2 separate regions of the Homo sapiens genome follow, and region 1 is linked to region 2. Evidence: promoter capture Hi-C in 16 types of primary human blood cells and fetal thymus (Javierre and others, 2016). All regions are on one chromosome and are shown on one strand. The core of a region is centred on a gene start or on the middle of the fragment in contact, and the rest is flanking DNA. Distances in the headings are between cores, read along the strand shown.

Region 1 (5,196 bases), core at 2,451-4,950, 340 kb before region 2:
TAAGAGGTGGGTAGTGTCTACAGTGTGGAAATGCTGGACAAATAAATGATTCACATCCCTGGGGGCACAGAGTGGGATGGTGACAGAATTCATCATGCAACTTGGAATGGCACTCAATTTAAAACTTTTTTTTTTTTTTTTTAAAAAAAAAAAGACAGAGTCTCGCTCTGTCACCCAGTCTGGAGTGCAATGGCATGATCTTGGCTCACTGCAACCTCCATCTCCCGGGTTCCAGTGATTCTCCTGCCTCAGCCTCCTCAGTAGCTGGGATTACAGGCGTGCAATACCATGCCTAGCTAATTAATTTAAAATTTATGAATTGTTTATTCCCAGAATTTCCCATTTAATATTTTTGGACCACAGTTGACCCCAGGTAACTGAAACCTCAGAAAGTGAAATGACAGATTGGGGGAGCTACTGTACATTGACCCAGCCTATAAGCTTCATGTTCTATAACATGTACCCAATGTTCTTTAACATTTTCTAAGCTTAGCTTAGAAAAAGGTATTTTTTTTTTAAGTTGCTTCTTCCCTGGGGACTATAAAATAAATAAATAAAAATAAGAATAAAAGTTATTGACCATAAATATATACATCCATAAGTACCCTTAACAATTAAAAATTTAAAAAAAAAATTCTCTCTGAAACACAAACACACACACACACACACACACACACACACACACACACGTTAGTTACTGAAAGAGAACTGTTTCAGTGCAGTGGTTCTATACTGGGGATACACTTCAGAATTATTTGTGAACATTTTAAAAATGATTCTGAATCACTGTTCTAGAGCAGGGGTTGGCAATCTCCCAGGGCAAACACACTGAGCTGCTTGTTTCTGTAAATAAAGCTTTATTGGCACACAGCCACCTCATTTATGTACCACAGCAGCTTCTGCACTACAAGAACAGAAGTGATGAAAACCAAGATTGAATGGCCTGCAAAGCTGAAAATATTTAGTATCTGGCCCTTTACACGAAGTTTGCTAATCCTTGTTCTAGAGAAATGAAATGTTATGGAAAGTTAAGAATAATCATTTAGTGAGGAAATCTAATATATAATAATGACTTATGCAGCATTATTTCACATTAAAAACTCAAAACAAGGCTGGGTACGGTAGCTTACTCCTGTAATCCCAGCACTTTGGGAGGCCGAGGTGGGTGGATCACCTGAGGTCAGGAGATCGAGATCAGCCTGGCCAACATGGTGAAATCCCGTCTCTACTAAAAATACAAAAAAAAAAAAAAAAAAAAAAATTAGCTGGGTGTGGTGGCGGGCATCTGTAACCCCAGGTACTTGGCAGGCTTAGGCAGGAGAATCGCTTGAACCCGGGAGGCGGAGGTTGCAGAGCCGAGATTGTACCACTGCACTCCAGTCTGGGCAACAAAACGAGACCCTGTCTTAAAACAGACAAACAAACAAAAAAAAACTTAAAACAAGAATTTTATCTTTTAGGGAGGATTTGGTGTGTTTTAAATACATGTATATTTTGTATACAGTAGCAATGATACGCACTACAACTAACAAAAGAGGAAAAAAGGAAGGAATAAATGGAAAATCAATTTCTTCAGCTCTAGATTGAGAAATTAAAAACATTTAACAAGAAGGGAACTATTGAAATGATTCTGTTAGCTTGATTTCACCTGGCAGTGGAGACAGGTCAAAAGAAACAAAAGCCAAATCATCAAGAGTGAATTCATGGGTCCTTCTCACTCGCTTTTTAAAATCCTAATGCCTCTCAGGGTCACGTTAAAGTTAGAATTTAAAATACACAAACAAAAAATAAGAAAACAAAAACTCAAAGATCAAAACACAAAAGCATACAAACCAAAAATTCTAAATCCATTCCCACTTTTGCATATAGTTAACCCAGAAAGGATAAGAGAAATTCCAAACGAGTTAAGGACTACAGGACAAAGGTGGAGAAAACAAAGAGAAGCTGATACAAAGACATGAAATGTGCATTCTGGAATTTTAATTTCCACGAAGGAAGACAGAAAAAAAAAACCAAAACTTAACACAAGAATTTTATTTCCTAGGGAGCCACGGTCCCAGTGGGGCACAGTACCTGTGACACGCCTGTTTGGGCTGGCGGCTGCCCCATGCCCACACTCATCGCCCCGCTGGATGACGGGAACTGGTTCTGTGGCAGAAACTGGCTCTGAGCGGGCGCCTGGGCCATCATGTTGTTGGTGTGTGCACCCATCATGTTCGGAGGCTGAGGCATTCGGGAAGGAGAAATGGCCATCTACGAGACAACAAGCACCACCAGAGCTGTAGTTCGGAAGCTGACGGCCAGAGTTTTCAAGGTGAGCCAGAATGATCCAAGGCTTCACAACCCCAGAGGATGGCAAGCACAGGGCTCACATCCTGCCCTTCCTCATGGGAAGAGACCACCACTTGCTAAGAACTCCCGCGCTCCTGGGCACCTTACACACTTTCTCAGGCAATCTCTCAAATGAGCCAGCTTCAAAATGTCCTCTGAATAGAAATCAATAGCAGGCTATAATTTAAAGTTTAAGACATGCCTATGAGTTCTCTAAAGTGTTTAGAAAGCAGCCTCGGAACAGCGAGCTCTCAGTCAACAGATGCTGACAATTCCCTGCTGGCCACATATCTGAGGCTGCCTTCTCCAGCCTTGGAACTCCCACATTCTCACAAAGCCACACATTCCTATGAATTTGTTATTCCAATAAAATAACTAACAGTCAAATAATTCTGTGTAGTAATAATTTTTTTAAAATGAGAGATGAAAGAAATAAAGCATAACCCAAATTCAAAGGAACAAGAACCACAGGATTCTCAAGTGACATGAATTCTGCTGCTTAGATAATGTTCCATGTGAGAGGGAGGGCTATCTGCAGCACAGCGAAAGAGAACACTTACCCCTGGCACTGAGCCCATGCTGTTCATCTGGACAGAGTGGTTCATTGGGGAGGCTGCACGAGGTCCCATGGGTGCTTGTGGCAACTGGACGTTCCCCAAGGACATGGGGTTAAATGAATTCATCCCTGTAAATGTACCCACAACGGTTCATTAGGAAAAGCACCCACAGGAAAACAGAATTACAACTTGCTAAATAAACTCTTAAGTAAAATAAGATGGAACGCACAGGCAACAGAAAACTGAAAAGAAATCACCCAATTAATCAATGAAGATGATGAAGGAACAGACTTCTCCATATCCAGAGAAAACGGCATCAATGTGGGGGTGGTGACGGTGGCATGGTGAGGGGTACCAGGGAAGGACGAGGACATGAAGGCATAAGGTTGGGTAAGACAGGAACAAGTGAGACATTAAACGAGGCTGTGGTAGAGCTGAGCCAGAGGGCACAGTACCAAAGTGTCATAGCAACAAAGAGGGTGAGGAGGTGCCCTGAAAGGACAGCACCCTCACAAGCTACAGAAGAGATGTTTCCAGAGACCAGGGCAAGCTTCTGTGCACACCCATACCTAATGCCTCTGGAGCAGCTGACGCCCATCATCCGAGGATTCCCAGCTCCTTGCTGGGTTTACATTCATTGTTAGAATCTGTGCTAAGTCTCCAAATGTTCTTTTAATTTTGCAAGCACCTTAAGCATTAAGAAGTGCCCAAGGGTCAGCCGTCCTCAACCTTAGCCTCCTGTAGTTTACAGGAACACCACATCACTGAAAGACACTTCACAGCCAGTAAGTGTCTCCAGACTGCGGTGTCTAGTTCCTTCCAATTTCCAATAATACTCTGTAAACTCTGAGTTCTAAAGAAGCACCAGTTCAAATTAGTCTTAGGACCAACACTAGAATCTGACAGAACCCTTTAGAGAATTTCTGGAAGGTGCTGCCTTAGCGCTGCTGTAGTCATGAGAAGGCTCAAAGGATGACTCACGGAGCACTACCTTCAATGGCTACCTAGAAATGGTACCCTCAAATAACGGAGTGCCGATGCAGACCAGGAAGACTTTCCAGGGAGTCTATAATGTAAGCTTCCCCACTCCTTGAGAATTTTTTTAAACAAAATGAAAAACAATTACTAAGGAACAGCACTTAAAGAAATCTGTATTTACCCAGATGTGCTGGTAGGGAGGTTGCTAAGTGCATAACTAGAAAACATCTATTCCAATATTCTGCTGGTAAACAGCAGGGGCATCATACCCCACACCAGCAGCATCTTCCTATCCAGGCTGAAGTCCTGGACCAATCCCCAACACAGCATCCAGCCACTTTCCCAAGGCTCAATTTCTCTGACTCCTTGATTTCTTTCTTTTTTTTTTTTGAGATGAGATTTCGCTCTTGTTGCCCAGGCTGGAGTGCAGTGGTGTGATCTCAACTCACTGCAGCCTCCGCCTCCTGGGTTCAAGCAATTCTCCTGCCTCAGCCTCCCGCGTAGCTGGGATTACAGGTGTGCACCACCATGCCTGGCTAAATTTTGTATTTTTAATAGAGACGGGGGTTTCACCATGTTGGCTAGGCTGGTCTCAAACTCCTGACCTCAAGTGATCCTCCTGCTTCGGCCTCCCAAAGTGCTGGGATTACAGGTGTGAGCCACTGTGCCCAGCCTGACTCCTTGATTTCTTTCAAAAATCAAAGCCTGAGCAAAGCCTCTTTCCTTAGAGTCTTCTGGATAATGTCACCACCTTGTTTCACAACCTGGAAAAATGTCCTCCTGCTTGGGTCTCAATGGTCAAGAGCTACAGGGTTTTCAAATGCTCCCTGCCCCAAAATAAAAATCACTGCTTCAACCAACCAAAAACCAGAGGCTCTCTACTTAAGAACCTTTCAAGGTTGTTGAGACAGCTGCTGACACCCCAACCTGGCACAGGACCTGTGTGTACACTCTCTCCAGAAGTTGACATCCAGCCAGCTGGGCTTAACCCCTAGGGCCAAGAGCAGCCCGTGCCGTCCCCATTTCAGCCTCTGCAAGTGCTCAGCAGTCTAGGACTGTCTTGCATGCTTCTCCTTCTCAGCATTCAGAAGCACTCCCTCCCCACATCTAGGGTGCTTCTTTCTCGGACTCTTCCTAAGAGTAACGTACCACACCCCCTTCACCATCCATTAAAAAAATAAAAAGCTGGCCGGGTGCAGTGGCTCATGCCTGTAATCCCAGCACTTTGGAAGGCCAAGGTGGGCAGATCACAAGTTCACGCGATTGAGACCATCCTGGCTAACATGGTGAAACCCCATCTCTACTAAAAAAAAAGATACAAAAAATTAGC
Region 2 (5,506 bases), core at 2,185-4,684:
ATGAGGGAGGGGAATACCAGCTCTCCGGCAGGTACGTTTCTCCCTTCCAAATCACCTGGTGGCTGGAGAAGCTCAATATGAAGCTCTTCACTTAAGGCAAATACTATGATAATAAAATATCCTTAAACAAATGATGGCTGAAAGCTGAAAATGCAAACTTTTTTTAAAAAAAAAAAAAGACCTAGATAAAAGACAGTGTGTACTCAGAGGTAAGTAACTCCGTCTAATTCTCCAGAGACCTGCAGGACTGCGCCGACTTCCTATCCCTATTTTGAGGATAAGCAAAGTGAGGCCTAGAGAGGAGAAAGATTTTATTCTCCACGTTTTCGCAAAAAGGGCAGAGAGAAACATTTGGATGGGACTTCAGGGTGACCAAATGAATGCAAAGGCAATTTCCTTAAGTGCTAAACAGTGCTGAATGCTGAAGGGCTCCATACCCTTACATTCACCGGACGTGCCCCCACATTTCAGCCAACCAGTGGTTATGCACGTTCAAAGTTCTCCTTCCTTCTAAAGGTCGCGTCTAGGTCATCTCTGCACAGCGTCCCTTTCTGCAGTGTGAACAGATCTGTGATATTTGACCCGCTGAAAGAAAAGTCACACTGACCCTGAGATCCCCCCATGGTAAGGCATTCTGAGATACCTGAGCTGTCTGCAGACACTGAGGCTGGAAGCTTTTTTTTTTAATTTAATACAATCAGGATCAGGGAGGGGGGATGCCGAGGTAAAGCAGTGCACATACCTTTCAACTGGTCAGCAACCACGCTCTGGCCCAGCCGTTCAATAACTTTCCCATCTTCCATTTCGTACCGGTCATCTAAGTATTTTGCGGTGGCCTCAGAAATGTGAACTTTGCCGGCCACTCCCAGCTGCTCCATGAGATTGGCCAGGTTCACATCGTTGGACCACACGTCAAATTTAAACCTCCTCATGCCCAGGATGCCGCAAAGGACGGTGCCCGTGTGCACCCCGACTCTCATGTTCACCATCTCCTTCTTCTCCTGGCAGAACTGCTCGATGGCCTTGATCATGCCCAGGCCCATCTCGATGCAGCAGTAGGCATGGTCGGCCCGGGGCTCGGGACAGCCCGCCACGCAGTAGTAACAGTCTCCCAGGGTGCTGATTTTCTCACACTTGGTCTCCTCACACAGGCGGTCGAAGCGACCGAACAGATCGTTCAGGAGACCCACCAGGGCGTGGGCAGACTTGTTGGCACTCATCTTGGTGAAGCCCACGATATCTGCAAATAAAATACTGACTTCTTCGATCTGCTGCATCTTAAAAGGGCGGAAGGCTATAGGAGCTTTTTGGATGGAAGACTTTTTCTTCCTGTTCTTGGGGCTCGAGGTGGCATGCCTCTTGACAGAATTCTCACTCTCCTCATCTCCCTGCTTCATTAAGTCATCGGCTATGATTCTTGGCATCACGGAATGAATCATCCTCTCTTTGAGGGCTTTTTCCACTTCCAGGTCCTTCCCGTGCATAATGGATTGCCCCACCTTGAGGAAGGTGCTCCTGGACCTCACCTGGGACATGACGAACAGGTGGACCCCGATGGCGTGGATGCAGCCGTGGAGCAGCCCCCTGCTCAGCAGCTCCCAGTGCAGGGCCCCGGCTCCGGGCGAGGGGAAGCAGGCTTCATCCCGGAAATGGTAGCCAAAGGTCTCGAAAAGGACAGAGTAGGCCACCCCCAGACACAAACTCAGGTACAAAGGTAAGTGCATGACGGTATAGAGCAAAAAGAGCACTTCGATGCACATGGAGAAGCTCCCCACTTGAGATAAGCAAGTATCTGTGGGCCGGGCTGTGGCCGTAAGGTTGGAGCTGTCGCCGCGTCCTGAGACAGGCGTCAAGACCTGGAACTGCGCAGCCAGGGTCAGGGCGAACACCAGCAGGGTGAGAGCCAGCGAGGTCCACGCGTAATGCCGGGCGTACAGCTTGGTGAAGGTAAACAGAAAGAAGCCCACACACACCAGGAGGAAGCACAGCGCGGGGGCGACCATGACGATCAGTCTGGATCTCATGTGGACCGCAAAATAGATGCTCCACAGAAGGCAGGCGAAGCCGATGTAGAAGAGCGCATACCGGAACCGGCGCTGGGTCTGCGGGAAGCAGCGCTCCAGGCAGGCCTCCTCCAGGTTCACCGAGTCGAACTTGGGGTCCCACCAGCGGCTGGAGGCCCTCTCGAACAGCTGGGGCAGCTTCTTCTGCCTGCGCAGCCGGCCTCCGCCGCCCACTCGCCGGGGGACGCCCCCGGAGTCCCCAGAGCTGCTGCAGCTAGAGGAGATGCTGTATTTGCAGTGCTTGGGGTGGCTGTTGGAGGACAGCTGCTTGGGGTTGATCTTGACGCGCACGCTGTTGCTGTCCCCGCTGGAGTCGCAGCTCACCTCGGTGCTGTGGTGATGCAGCAGCTGCTGGTGGGGTGGGGAAGCCATGTTGTCGAGTCCCGGGGCCTGCCCCGGCCGGGGTCACCAGTACCTGCCAGCAAAACGGGGAGAGTTAGCGGCGCTCCCACCTAGGCATGCACGCCTAGAGGCCCGGGACCTGCTCCTGTCCTAAGGGGCGGCTCCAGCACGCGACCTGGACAGGCACCATCTGTTCCTGTGGTTCCCGGCTCAGCGGTGCTCCCACCGCCCCCACCGCCCCCACCTTCGAGGCGCACGAGAACCGCTCGGGACGGACCTAGAACGCCCGGGGGTCCCCGCCGCGTGGCCGCCGTGGCTCCGGGACCGCTTTGCTCGCTCGCCTTCCGCGCCTCTCGCCCCGAGGGTGGCCTCCGCGCCGCGCGGCTTCTCCTCCTCGCGCGCTCGCCTCCTCCAGCTGCGGCTCCGGAGGGAAGTTCAGACCTTGAGCGCTCCCAGCCCCGCGAGCCGCCTGCGCACAAACAACTCCGCTGGCGGCGCGGAGCCCTCCATCCTGCAGGAGCCGCGCTCCGATGCGTCAAAGGCGGCGCGCGGCCGGCCCCGGGCCCGGACCCCGACCCGGAGCAGCGAGCTTCGGCGGGCGCCCCCGGCTCGCGCTCCCCGGCCGCCCCCCGCGCTCCGGGCCGGCCCTGCCCGCGGCGGCGGGCGCTGGGGGTGGGGGCGCCCCGGGCTGCGAGTGCGCGGAGCCCGTCGGCGCGGCCCGTCTAGTGGGGCCTGCTTCCCCCCGAGTGCGCCGCCGCTCCCGCCGCGGCCGCAGCTGTCCCGGGACCGAGCGCGTGGAACCACGGACGCGGGCCCCTCGCCGGGCGGCGGTGCAGACGCTGCCGCAGAGCCGGGCTCCCGCGACGCCGGCCGGGACGCCCGCCCGCCCGCGCCCACGCCGGGGGCCGCCTCCCCGAGCTAGAGATGCGGCCGCCGCCGCGCCCGCCGCCGTGTCCCCCGCGGCCGCTGCCTCATGTCGGAAGAGCTGCCGCCGCCACCATCTCCGGCCCCTGCCCCGCCCGCTGTCACTGACAGACGCGCGCCCGCGCCGCCCCTCGCCCAGCCGCAGCGCGCACGCGCGGCCCGCGCTCGCCGCCACCGCCTCCTGGCCCCGGACACGCGCACGGGCCGCGCGCCGCCCCGCCTTGGTGCGCGCGCTGGGCTGGGGCTGCGGGGCGGGGCGGGGCGGGGCGGGGCGCGCGCTCGGCTCCGCCCCCCGCCCCGGGCGGCGCCGCTTCTAGGCGGCGGGCTGTGGCCGCTGTCCGCGCTCCGGGCGCTGTGGGCCCGCCCTCCCTCGGCGTCCCAGAGGCCGCGCGCCGCCCGGGGTCCCGACCCTGCGGAGAGACCTGAAGGCGCCTGCCGTGGAAGAAGCCGCTGGCCGCAACGTTTGGGAAATCAAAATGTTGCCTTCCCACTCGGCACGCCTTTGGGATAAATCGAAGTTTCCAACCGTTGGATTTCCCTCCCGGGAGGCTCCCCTTGCTCTGTAAGCAATGAATGCGGGCCCCGGGGCACTCGGCCTGCCCTGGACCTGCTCACGGGGCGACCTTCACGGGCCTAGCCTCCAAAGCTGGGCCCACCGACGACCACGTTCCCCCGCCCCAGGGGTAGTTTACCTTGCTGTCCTTGAGCCCTTCTCCCCCTCCTCATGAACTACTGCTTTTCCTTTTACACAAATGAGACTTTCAAAGGAGTCCGCGTCCCATAATGGCAGTTGTGCATTGGCCTCCATAAACATTGCCACGTGTAAATAAAATCCTATTCTCTCTAGCATGCAGATCCCGACCCCTTCTCCCCACACTCCACAGTGCCTCCTGCCAGTCACGGGGCTCTCTTCCATCCCCTCCCTCGCCTCCCAGGCCCAGCGCCGGGGCCCACACCAGGTCTCACTGTTGAATTAGAAAATAAAAGTAAAATGTGATCTGTCCATGCAATGGAATATTATTCGGCTACAAAAAGGAATGGAGCACCGATGCATGCTGCAGTGTGGAGGAACCCGGGAAACGTTATGCTAGTGAAAGAAGCCAAACAAAAAAGGCCACATAGCGTATGATTCCATCCAGATGAAATGTCTCGAATTGGCAAATCCGTAGAGGCGACACAGATTGGAGGTTGCCAGGTGCTAGGGGAGGAAGATAAGCAGCTTGGGGTTTCGTTTTAGGATGATGAAAAAGTCTAGAAATGATCCAACAGGATGAATCTACATACTGCCCTTGAATCATACACTTTAAAGTGGTTTAGGCCGGGAGCGGTGGCTCACGCCTGTAATCCCAGCACTTTGGGAGGCCGAGGTGGGCGGATCACCTGAGGTCGGGAGTTCGAGACCAGCCTGACCAACACGGAGAAACCCCATCTCTACTAAAAATACAAAAATTAGCCGGACGTGGTGGCACATGCCTGTAATCCCAGCTACTCGAGAGGCCGAGGCAGGAGAATTGCTTGAACCCGGGAGGCGGAGGTTGTGGTGAGCTGAGTTCGCACCATTACACTCCAGCCTGGGCAACAAGAGTGAAACTCCATCTCAAAAAATAATAATAAAATAAAATAAAGTGGTTTAAATGGTAAATGTTATGTTGAGTGTATTTTACCACAATAAAGGAGGAAAAAACTAAAAGCAACATATTGTGGTGGTATTCCTGCAGAAGTGTGTAATCTCAATCCAATCGCAAGAAAACACCAGACAAACCCAGATTGAGACCTGTTCTACAAAGTGATTAACCAGTACCCATCAAAAGTGTCCTTGGACACTTTGGGTCTTGAAAGACAAAGACTGAGAAACTGTCACAATCTAGGAATCGTCCCTAAGGGGATAGATACAACAACTAAATGGAACATGGGATGCTGGTTGGGAACATGGAACAGGAAAGGACAGTAGCAGGAGAGCGGGCAAAATTCACATAAGATCTGCAATTTCCTGGTTCTGATCCTCTTACTATGGTTAGGTAAGACGTTAACATTTTTAGGGGAAGCTGGGCCCTGTGCAGTGGCTCACACCTGTAATCCCAGCACTTTGGGAGGCTGAGGCAGACAGACCACCTGAGGTTAGGAGTTCAAGACCAGCCTGGCCAGCATGGTGAAACCCCCGTCTCTACTAAAAATAC

The links. The method cuts DNA at HindIII sites, captures the fragments that hold promoters and counts their contacts. A CHiCAGO score of 5 or more calls a contact.
Region 1: a fragment that was not itself captured here is called in contact with the fragment with the promoter of ADCY9 in region 2 in 1 of 17 cell types (megakaryocytes); the score reaches 5.0 in megakaryocytes.

What each region holds. Positions count from the first base shown.
Region 1 is chr16:3,771,678-3,776,873 of GRCh38, forward strand. CREBBP (CREB binding lysine acetyltransferase) reads right to left here. Exons shown (of 31, transcript NM_004380.3): 12 at 2,892-3,016; 13 at 2,074-2,253. Among named protein-coding and RNA genes, the nearest start is that of TRAP1, 57 kb to the left of the region's middle. The HindIII fragment of the contact is 528 bases long and covers 3,437-3,964 here.
Region 2 is chr16:4,113,008-4,118,513 of GRCh38, forward strand. ADCY9 (adenylate cyclase 9) reads right to left here and starts at 3,435. Exons shown (of 11, transcript NM_001116.4): 1 at 2,683-3,435; 2 at 743-2,478. The coding sequence starts at 2,435. RefSeq lists silencers at 369-579, 3,573-3,642. The HindIII fragment of the contact is 5,610 bases long and covers 673-5,506 here.